3 separate regions of the Homo sapiens genome follow, and all the other regions are linked to region 2. The links are contacts of gene promoters, found by promoter capture Hi-C in human tissues and cell types (Jung and others, 2019). All regions are on one chromosome and are shown on one strand. Each heading gives the region's core, a stretch centred on a gene start or on the middle of the fragment in contact. The rest is flanking DNA. Distances are from core to core; before and after follow the strand shown. Region 1 holds the start of TRMT1 (tRNA methyltransferase 1). Region 2 holds the start of DCAF15 (DDB1 and CUL4 associated factor 15). Region 3 holds the start of GIPC1 (GIPC PDZ domain containing family member 1).

What was found. Contacts are between HindIII fragments. The study calls those that stand out against the background at their distance.
Region 1: a contact is called between the fragment with the promoter of TRMT1 here and the fragment with the promoter of DCAF15 in region 2, in 2 of the 25 tissues and cell types used here (H1 embryonic stem cells and lymphoblastoid cells).
Region 3: the fragment with the promoter of GIPC1 here is called in contact with the fragment with the promoter of DCAF15 in region 2 in 1 of the 25 tissues and cell types used here (spleen).

Annotation. Positions count from the first base shown.
Region 1 is chr19:13,114,576-13,118,003 of GRCh38, reverse strand. TRMT1 (tRNA methyltransferase 1) reads left to right here and starts at 1,264. Exons shown (of 17, transcript NM_001136035.4): 1 at 1,264-1,351; 2 at 1,573-1,858; 3 at 1,952-2,007; 4 at 2,236-2,378; 5 at 2,538-2,725. The coding sequence starts at 1,605. It also overlaps a transcript of NACC1 not described here. RefSeq lists enhancers at 1-120, 1,081-1,270. The HindIII fragment of the contact is 33,521 bases long and covers 1-3,428 here.
Region 2 is chr19:13,950,217-13,953,867 of GRCh38, reverse strand. It overlaps DCAF15 (DDB1 and CUL4 associated factor 15), which reads right to left and starts at 1,359. Exons shown (of 13, transcript NM_138353.4): 1 at 1,224-1,359. The coding sequence starts at 1,355. It also overlaps a transcript of PODNL1 not described here. RefSeq lists a silencer at 1,137-1,276 and an enhancer at 1,937-1,986. The HindIII fragment of the contact is 40,615 bases long and covers 1-3,651 here.
Region 3 is chr19:14,494,327-14,498,077 of GRCh38, reverse strand. It overlaps GIPC1 (GIPC PDZ domain containing family member 1), which reads left to right and starts at 1,951. Exons shown (of 9, transcript NM_005716.4): 1 at 1,951-2,041. RefSeq lists enhancers at 1-429, 1,710-2,636 and silencers at 1,618-1,677, 1,818-2,047. The HindIII fragment of the contact is 12,252 bases long and covers 1-3,751 here.

The DNA of each region.
Region 1 (3,428 bases), core at 15-2,514, 840 kb after region 2:
CTTTAGTTTCCTGTAAAACAAAAACAATAATGACTGCTGTTTATTGTGGCAGGCACTGCGTTACATTCTTTATGGGAATTAGCTCGTTTAAACTACACAGTAACATTTTTTAGTGAGAACTGCTACAGACACACTATAGAAAATAAAGGCAGCTGGGCGCGGTGTCTCACGCCTGTAATCCCAGCACTTTGGGAGACCGAGGTGGGTGGATCGCCTGAGGTCAGGAGTTCGAAACCAGCCTGGCCAATATGGTGAAACTCTGTCTCTACTAAAAATACAAAAATTAGCCGGGCGTGATGGCATGCGCTTGTAATCCCAGCTACTCGGGAGACTGAGGCAGAAGAATCGCTTGCACCCGGGAGGCGGTGGTTGCAGTGAGCCGAGATCATGCCACTGCACTCCAGCCTGGGCGAGACTCCGTCTCAAAAAAAAAAAAAAAAGAAAGAAAGAAAGAAAAGGAGGCACAGAGAAATGAAGAAAGCTGGTCAAGATCATCACACAGCAAGGAAGTGATGGTAGGTGCCAGGATTTAAACACAGGCTCAAAAGCGACAATAAGACCTAAGACTTTTATGATGCTTACCGGATGCTAGGTTCTGTTAGCATTTTACCTGCACTAACTCGTTTACTTCTCACTACAACCCAGTAACAAATGGTAAAAAAAAGTTCTGCCCATTTTGCAAAAGCGGTAACTTAAGTTCAGAGTTAACAAGTCGCAGGGCGAGCTGAGACTGGAACCCAGGTAGCCGGGACCACTTCGCTGTCCTGCCTTCATACACTGGTTAGAACTTTACCGAGCGCTTACAATGTTAGAGTGGTTCTTTGCACACTTTCCAGGAATCTGTCATTTAATCTTTGCTCTATCTGAGAAACCACGATTCTCATTTAATAGGTAAGAAAAGTGAAGCCGCGGGAGTAACCTGCCCAGAGCATGTGATGGGACTGAGATTCAAACCCGGTAAATCCAACTCCAGAGCCTGAGTCATTCCTGCAGGGTGCTCTGAAATAATGTGTATATAGCACCCAGAACACAGAAGAGGACCAATAAGTGTTGGGTTTCTCCGCTTACCGCCCCTTTTCTGAGCCACAACTTCCTCATCTGTGAAATGGGACTAGGGACGTGTCCTCTCCCAGGGGATCCACTGTGATTAACACCCCCGGAACAGCACGATCAGCGCGCTTCCTTTATGGCTTTCATTTTGATCCCGGCCGCCCACCGTACGTTTCCTCATTGACTGGCCAACCACTATCATGTGATTCGCCCACCCACTGTGCCAACATGGCGGCGCCCAGGTCCTAATTCGGGAAACGTGCACCTTGACTAATTCGGTTTTCTGTGGCTACGAGAGCAGGTGAGGACGGGCTAGGCAGCGCGGGGAGGGATTCGGACTCGGGGCGGGCCTGCACGAGGGCATCGGCTCCACAGGGACCAGTCATCCCCAAAACGAGGGGATATCAGCTTACCGAGGCCGCAGGTTTTCCTAGTCCCTACCTCATAGATATGTAGGACATCCCCGGGCCCGGAATGCGGCTCTCTGACCCTCTCTGTGCCCTCCCCCGCCCCCCGAACCAGGCTTGGCGGGCGGAGGCGCCAGCGGATGTCTCATGCAAGGATCGTCTCTGTGGCTAAGCCTCACTTTCCGCTCCGCCCGGGTGCTCTCTAGAGCCCGGTTTTTCGAGTGGCAGTCTCCAGGGCTGCCGAATACAGCAGCGATGGAGAACGGCACCGGGCCCTACGGAGAAGAACGTCCACGTGAAGTCCAGGAGACGACAGTCACCGAGGGGGCTGCCAAAATCGCCTTTCCCAGTGCCAACGAGGTCTTTTATAACCCGGTGCAGGAATTCAATCGGGACCTGACGTGAGCAGGGGTCAGACGTTAGCCTGGCATCGGCTAGTGGGTCAGTGTGGATGGCGGGGGCGGGGTATGAGCTAGTCCTCTGTCTCCCACCAGATGTGCTGTGATCACCGAGTTTGCTCGCATTCAGCTTGGGGCCAAAGGAATCCAGAGTGAGTGGAGGTCCAGGCTTCTGGTGGGCGGGGGTCACACAAGTTTATCTCCCTGCCTGGGCTCTTCTGCCGCCCAAATCCAGAGGGGCTTCAGCCACATAGCAGGCCCTGGGTTCTGCTCCTTCAGCCTTTCCGCAGGGATTTCAGGGACGATATTTTGGAGATTAAGGGGAGGTTTCTCAGAGGGGACCTTGTTATTCTCTGACTTGTGCCTCTGGGTGGCTGCAGTCAAGGTTCCAGGAGAGAAGGACACGCAAAAAGTGGTCGTGGACTTGTCAGAGCAAGAGGAGGAAAAGGTTGAACTGAAAGAGAGTGAAAACCTGGCCTCAGGAGACCAACCTCGCACAGCGGCCGTGGGGGAGATCTGTGAGGTGGGGCCTGAGCATAGGAGCTGGCAGCCCTGGAATTTAGCGGGAGACAGAGGGCTCCTGGAGGGGGAGAGCTATAGGAGGTGGGTGGTGGGGGCTCCTTGGGGCCCAGAAGAGGATGGAGGTGGAGATGTGAGGGAGGTTTTCTGCTTACTCCAACAGGAAGGCCTGCATGTGCTGGAAGGCCTGGCAGCTTCAGGCCTACGTTCCATTCGATTTGCCCTAGAGGTGCCTGGGCTCAGATCTGTGGTTGCAAACGATGCCTCCACCCGGGCTGTGGATCTCATACGCCGGAATGTCCAGCTCAATGACGTGGCCCACCTGGTACAGCCGAGCCAAGCAGATGCCCGGTAGGTTCTGGGCATCACAGCCTAGCTCTGGGACAAGCCTGCCTGGGGTCAAATTCTGGCTCTGTCACATTCTCACTCTGTGACCTTGAGTGAGTGACTTAGCCTCTTTGAGCCCCAGTTTCCTTGTCTGTCAACTGAGAAAATTAGTTTTACAGGGGTTGCTGTGATGAGTAATAGATAATTATGGTATGATCCATACTCTGTGCCAGAAATAAGTAGCATCCTGGTCTCTGTTTTAACTTCTTACACTCCTTTTATTCATTCAAATGAGCCATAGTATATCCAGTGTCTGCTATGTGTCAGGCACCGTTTTCAAGAACTGGAAATGCATCAGGAAACAAAACATGCAAAATTGGTGACCTTCGCAAGAGTTGGCAAACTATAGCCTGTGGGGCTCACAGCCTTTTTTTGTTTGTTTGCTTGTTTGTTTGTTTTTTGAGATGTAGTCTCGCCCTTGTTGCCCAGGCTGGAGTGCAGTGGCACGATCTCAGCTCATTGCAACCTCCGCCTCCCGGGTTCAAGCCATTCCCCTGCCTCAGCCTCCCGAGTAGCTGGGATTACAGGCACGTGCCACCACGCCTGGCTAATTTTTATTTTTATTTATTTATTTATTTTTTGACACGGAGTCTCGCTCTGTTGCCCAGGCTAGAGTGCACTAGCGTGATCTTGGCTCACTGCAACCTCCGCCTCCCAGGTTCAAGTG
Region 2 (3,651 bases), core at 110-2,609:
GGCCTCTGCTGGGGGCCAGTCGAGGCAGATAGAAGGGTGAGCCTAACCAATGACCCAACGCCCCCTTCCCAATTAACTACCGCCTTCCAACGGAATCCAAGGGAATCCCTCATCCCCAAAACTTCACCGCGGAAGGATCTGCGGGGACTGACAGGCAGAAGCCAGGCACAGGGATATCCGAACAGCCTCAGTCTTGCTACCCAACTCTGCCTTCAAGACATTCCAATCTGATGGGAAGAGTCCTGTCTGGGAAGCTCCCTGTCTGATGGGAGACAGCCCTGTCCACATGGAGGTCTCAGTCTGACGGAGGAAACAGCCTGGCCAGCCAGGCCCAGGCCGACAGGGGAGACACAGTCCCTGCCCAAGGAGCTTCCAAGCTAAGGGCGGAACCACAGCCAAGCCCAGGGAGCTCCCAGGCTAAGGGCGGAGACTGTCCCAGCCCAGGGAGCTCCCAGTCAAAAGGGGGAGACACAGCACTGCCCTTACAAAGCTACCAGCCTCACGGAGAAGGCGCAGTCCCTGTCCACAGAGACACAGCCTTGCCCCAGTTACTGCCCACCTGCAAGAGATCCACATTTCTGCCCTCCAGAGCTCCCAAACTGATGGGGGAGAGAGACATCATCCCCCAGCTCTGGGAGTTTCCAGTCTGATGGAGGAGACAGAGCCTGCTTCGGTAACTCTCACTCTGCGGGGGAAGACTCAGCCCTATCCAGGGAGCTCCCACACTTTCAATGGGGAGGCCCACCCAGGTACTGGAACTCCCAGCTCATGTGTGGTCGGGGCTTGGGCAGGGAGAGGAACATCAGGCGGAGGAAGCCCAAAGCCAGCGGCAGGGGCTCTGCAAAGGGGGCGGGAAGGTTCCATTATGGAGCAACCATGGGAGCAGAGCTTTGAAAAGCCTGGATCGCCCCCTTCCTCCTGATTCTCCCTGCGGCCTCTGGGGTCGCCTCCCTCCGAGCCCCCTCCCTGGGGCCCCGCCCCCAACCCCCTCCATCCCAGCCCCTTTGCCGGTCACCCGACACAACCACCTGCATCCAGGCCCCCAACTGAGCCCCCTCCATCCAAGCCATCTCCCCCGGGCCCCGCCCAGGCCCTGCATCCGAGCCCCCTCCCCTGGGGCCCCGCCCCCAACCCCTCACCCCGCGAACGCCCTCCTCCCTCCGCCTCCCTCGTCCCTACTCCCCACCCTCCGGCGCGCTCCCCACTCCGGCTCCAGGCCTCACCTTGACCCGCTCCAGCTGCTTGAGGACGTGCTCCCGCCGCCGCCCTGCTGCCCGCTTCCCTCCGGCTCCCCCGGGGCCGCCGCCGCCGCTCCCAGCCCCGCTGTTCCGCTCCGATTTCGAGCTGGGCGCCATTTTCACCCCCTCCCTCCACTTCCGGAGCAACCGGCCCCTTCGCCCCACCCCTGCCGCCTCCTCATTGGTCCTTTTTCGGGACAGCGGCCCGCCGGTTGGGCGAAAGCCCGCACTCGCGCTATGCCTGTCCATCAAAGCCATCTCGACTCTTGATTGGTAGCGACAGTAACAGCCCCCGCGGCCCGTTGCCGTATTCCCGCCCCGCCTTAAGGACGTACCACTCGGAGGTCCCGTTTGTTCGCCCTGCCCAGATAACTTTGATCTGATAGGTGAATATCTCTGTCTGTCTCAACGGCGTCACGCCCCCTGTGGCTGGCGGGTTTCCATGGAGACCACAGGCGGTCCAGGCCCTTGGGCGGGGCGACGGGAGCCTGTGGTCCACCAAGGCTCGAGAATCCTCAGCCCCGGGCTGCCCGCGCCCGGTCCAGGTGGGCAAAGGCCTGACGAGCATACTTGGGCGGCAGAGCCAGGCCGAGGAAAGAGATTTACAAAAAAGGAAAAAACGATGGGATTCGATGAAAGCTTGTTTCCGATGGGCGGGTTGGTGGGATGATGGTGGTGATAATGATAGCATCAATCATGGATCGCTCCACATGTGACAGACACGGTTCTGAGCTTAAACAGTTCGATGTGGCAGGGCCCTGTTGTGCCAATTATGCAGATCATAGCAATAAAAATAATTGTTGAAGGTCCGCTCCGTGCATCATATTCGTATACATTACCTCATTTATTTTATTTTTTTAGACAGAGTCTCACTTTGTCACCCAGGCTGGAGTGCAGTGGCGTGATCACGGTTCACTGCAGCCTCGACCCCGGGCTCAGATGATCCTCTCACCTCAGCCTCTCATGTAGCTAGGACTACAGGCGTGCGCCACCACGCCTGCCTAATTTTTTGTATTTTTAGTAGAGACGAGGTTTCACTATGTTGGCCAGGCTGGTTGCGAACTCCTGACCTCAGGTGATCCGCCCGCCTAGGCCTCCCAAAGTGCTGGAATTACGGGCATAAGCCACCGCGCCCGGCCTAATTTTTTGTATTTTTTGTAGGGACGGAGTTTCACCAAGTTGTCCAGGCTGGTCTCCAACACCTGGGCTCAAGTGATCCTCCCACCTCTGCTTCCCAAAGTGTTGGGAGGACAGGTGTGAGCCCCCACCCCTGGCCAGCCCATTTAATCCTCTGAACAATCTAGAAGATAGTTTTTTTTTATTGTCTTCATTAAAAAAATTTTTTTTGTAGAGATGGGGTCTCACTATGTTGCCCAGGCTGCTCGAAAACTCCTGACCTCAAGGGATCATCCCGTCTTGGCCTCCCAAAGTGCTGGGATTACAGGCATAAACCACTGTGCCCAGCTGATTTCAAGGGTTTTAGGAGTTATGTACTAGAAAACCTAAGACCAAAATATGGTTTTTTAAAAATATATCACAACACAATATCACAACATATCTTTTTTTTTTTTTTTTTTTTTGAGATGGAGTTTTGCTCTTGTTGCCCAGGCTGGAGTGCAATGGCACAATCTCAACTCACTGCACCCTTCACCTCCCGGGTTCAAGCAAACGATTCTCCTGCCTCAGCCTCCCAAGTAGCTGGGATTACAGGCATGTGCCACCATGCCCGGCTAATCTTTGTATTTTTAGTAGAGACAGGGTTTCACTATGTTGGCTAGGCTGGTCTCAAACTCCTGACCTCAAGTGATCCACCCACCTCACCCTCCCAAAGTGCTGAGATTACAGGCGTGAGCCACTGCGCCCGGCCATCACAATGTATCTTTAGCCAAAGGTTCCCCTGCTTCTTGCATACCCTACGTCCATGGAGAGCAAAGCTGTCTCCAAGACAGTGGGGACACCTGGCAGCTACTGCCTTAACCAAGTGATCAAAATCAACATCACCAGTGATAAGTCATACTGACATCACGGACCCCAGCTATGTGATAGGGAGGACATTTGTAACTGTCTGATATTATCCCCAAACCTAGAACCTCAATCTAACCATTAGACAACATCAGACATTTATCCCAGATTGAAGAAGGTTCTCAAAATACATGACCAGGCCAGGTGCGGTGGCTCATGCCTGTAAGCCCAGCACTTTGGGAAGCAGAGGAGGGAGGATCACTTGAACCCACGAGATCAAGACCAGCCTGGGCAACATGGCGAAACCCTCATCTCTACAAAACATCAAAGAAATTCACTGACTCTACTGGCACACGCCTATAGTTTCAGCCACTCGGGAGGCTGAGGCAGAAAGATTACTTGAGCCCAGGAGGTCAAGGCTGCAGGGAGCTATGATGGTGCCACTGCACTC
Region 3 (3,751 bases), core at 702-3,201, 540 kb before region 2:
CAGGTGTGGTGGTACATGCCTGTGGTCCCAGCTACTCGGTAGGCTAAGATGGGAGGATTACTTGAGCCTAGGAGGTGGAGGTTGCAGTGAGCTGAGATCCTGCCACTGCATTCCAGCCTGGCCAACGGAGCTAGACACTGTCTCAAAAAAAAAAAAAAAAAAATTCAGAAAGGAGGTGCCCAGTGCTGCTCTGTGTCTTGAGCAATCCCACAATCCCATCACCCCTTCTCCGGGCACTTCCTCATCAGGAAACAGGAGCCAGTTGGAGTCTGGCTCAGGACTCTGCAGCCTCAGTCATGCTGTCCCCTGGGCTCAGCATCCCGTCCTCTCCAAGTGTGCAGGGGGCAGCTTAGATGCCAGGCTCAAGCAGGGCAGGCAGCACAGTCCCACAGAGGGTACTGGCCAGCCCAGGCAACTGATTGCTCAGTGGGATGGCAGAGGTCAGCAGAACAGGAAGGGACGGACAATAGCTGTGCCTGTTGCCTGGCCTGCCACAGCAATCTCGGTGTTTGCCAGCTGGGTGGGGCTGGCTAGGCAATCCTCAGCAGCAAAGCTCAAGGTTCCATCTCCCATTTTAGTTTGCCCCTCTGCAGGTCCTGGTGGGACTGATATGCACAACATCTCACCCTGGGAACTGCAAAGAACCAGTCTTTCTATGGAGCTTGAGCAGGGTCTCAGCACTTAGAGGCTTCCAGGAACTACAGTTCCCAGAACACACAGCATTCAGCCCCAGTTGCTGTCCAAGTGGCTGGGTTTGAACTAGAACAAGGAAATCTCACTTGTCCCGGGAACTGAGCGTCCTGGCCTGGTCCAGGTGCATTTGTGACTCTTGTTTCTTGGATCTGTGTCCACCTGATAAATCCCCCTTCCTTATAAACTACATGGTCTATTTGTCCACACAGGTTTGCTGAGAACCTGCCGTGTGGCAGCCTGAGGTGGGAGTGAGGGGTTGACAAGAGAGACTCAGCCTCCACCCTCACAGTCAGATGGAGGAGACAGATCTATGAAAGGCTGGCTGGGTACCTTCTGTGACCTAGCACATAAACAAACCAACAAGCAGATAAACTATCTCACCCTTGTCTTTCATTGCATCTTGCCTTTCCACACTGATTTACTAGCTCCCACGATATTGCAGTATCCTAAAGCGTGCTGTATCTCTCTGTCCGGCTTTTGCACGCTCTGTTACCTCTACCAGGAGCACATTCAGCTTATTCACTGACGCGTCTTCAGAGGTAGGACAGAGTCTGGCACGGAGCAGTCTGGCACATTAAATATTTGATGAGTGAGTGAACGAATGAATGAATGAATGCCTTTGTCCATTGTACAGCCCAGGAAGCAGGGAAACTCGGGACCCTCCCTATTCATCTCGATCCCCCGCCCGCCCCCAGAGATTGAATGCATCTTTTTATCCGCTCCGAGGATGGCCAGGCTGGGGCAGAGGAGGCCGGGCAGGGAACTGGGTTGGGGACTGCCATTGACCCCCACCCAGGTCTCCTAAACTGTCCGCTTTCCTGGACGTCGGAAGTTCGAATCCTTTCCCCGAAACCTGGCCTAGGTCACCTGACTCCCCCGCCCCTCACCACCCAGGGCACCCGAGACTGACACTCAGCCGACAGCACGTGGTTCAGGGGCCCCAGCTTCCTTCCCATTGGCCGCTTGTCTCCTTCCTCCCTCGCGATTGGCCGGGGCCCAGCTGCAGCTCCCCCCCCTCCTCAGCCCTCCGGTGGTACAGCCAGCCGCGGCTTAGGCGGGGCGGAACGGTCCACTGCTTCGCGGCGAGGGGAGGAGTCGGGAAGAGCCGGGCGAGGCGGAGGGATCCCTCTGGAATGTTTCCGTCGGGTCCACCCGAAGCGGAAGACGCGGATTGGCTGCGAGCACCGAGAGGCAGCCGCTGATTGGCCGGCCGCGGGCGTCGGCCCCGCCCCCCAGGCGCCGCTGCGGGAGAGGCCCGGTCTGGAGTTTGCGGAGGGCCGAGCCGGGTGCGCACGGGGAGGCGGAGGCAGCGGCGGCGGCGGCGGCGGCGGCGGCGGCGGCGGAGCAGGTGAGTGGCCTCTGCGAGAAGGATGTGTCTGCTCCGGGGGCCTCGGGGGTCGCGGGCCTGCGAGGATCCGGCCGATCCTGCAGGGTGGGGCCGGCGCCGTGGACGCGACTGGAGGTCTAGGCTGCGCGCGGGGATGCCGGAGGCCCCTTCCCAGGGGAAGCGGGGGTGGGGGGTGGTGGGGGCAGCTCCCTTCCTGCTGGCGGGCAGGGGACAAACGCCTCCCAACGCTGGGCTGGGGTTTCTGGGCTTGCCCCTCCCCCCGTCCCCCGGCTGGACTGTCCCCATCCCAGCGTGGACAGGCGCGGGGTCAGTGTTTCTGACCCTTTCCTGGGCACTTCCCCTGAGCTAACCGCGTCTGAACCCTCCAGGGCCTTGGGGGGGACGCAGTGAGGACCACGGTCTGAATAATAATCGTCATGAAAAACTCCACCTCAGCTAGCATTTATTGGAGAGCTTCCGTGTCAGGCATTTACCATGAGGATAATTGACTCTAAACACCTCATGGGAGGTGCTGTGCCTTCTTGTAAAAAAGGTGAGGCAGCCTACCCAGAGAGGTGGAGTGACTTGCCCAAGGTCACACAGCTAGTAACTGGCACATCTGGGACTGGAACTCATGCCCCAGGGTCCAGAACTGGAGTCACACCCACTAGACTGGATACCAATAACTCCACGGCTCAGTTGTTGCTGAGTAGCTCCGGCCCCCTACCCCTCCCACCCCCTACCCCGTACTCATCATCAGGGCCACACCTGCTGGTCTTTTGCTTTACCAGCCACTCAAACAGGAAGCTGCCCTCCTTTCCCTTCTCCCCAGAGCTGGAGAGGGCAGGTCTAACTACCTGGGTCCAGAGAAGAGAGTGGCGTCTGCAGGGGGCCAGGATGCTGGGGTCTGGGCCCACTGGGTTCCCCCCTGGCAACCTGGGCCGAGGCTGGGAAGTAGGCGTTCTCCCCGGAAACACCCAGGAGCCGGTTTTTCAAGAGTGAATCAGAGGCCTCTTTCCCTCCTTCTCTCCAAAGCAACACTGTGCTGGAACGGGGAGCCTGGGCGTGGTTTCCCCCTTCCCCTAGCTTCTGTGTGCTCCCAGGAACCCCCTTCCCCTCCTCCTGCTGGCCACACTGCTTCTGTGTGGCCGTGGGGTTGCTAAGTTTCAGGCCCTTCCCAGGATGAGGGGGTGAGGATGCTGAAATTCCAGCCCAAACACTCAATATCCGGGCTGAAGTGGCTCTTCATCTCTGTGTTCAGGTGTGAGGGGAGCCAGGGAAAGTGGGGAGCCTAGGACAGTTGGCAACCGCACAGCAGGCATGTTTAGGGGGCTGTTTCAAGGATGGGGAGCACAGAGAGCAATCAGAACGAGGACCTGAGACACATTCATTCACTCAGTCTACAAATATTTAGTGAGCACCTGCTACGTGCATGTGCTAGGCACTGTTCTTGGCACAGAAAATGCAACAGTGAACAAAACAAAATCCCTACTTTTGAGGAGTTGGCACTCTGAAAGGAAGGAAGCAGCCAACAAACAAGTTAGCAAGTAAATAAAGAAGATAATTTCAGATGGCACTAACTGCTATGAATAAAATATGAGCGGGTGGTACTGTAGAGAGTAGTTGTGGGCAAGGGGTGCCAGCCCAGCAAAGATCAGGCAAGGGGGCCCGGGCGCGGTGGCTCACGCCTGTAATCCCAGCACTTTGGGAGGCCGAGGCGGGTGGGTTGCT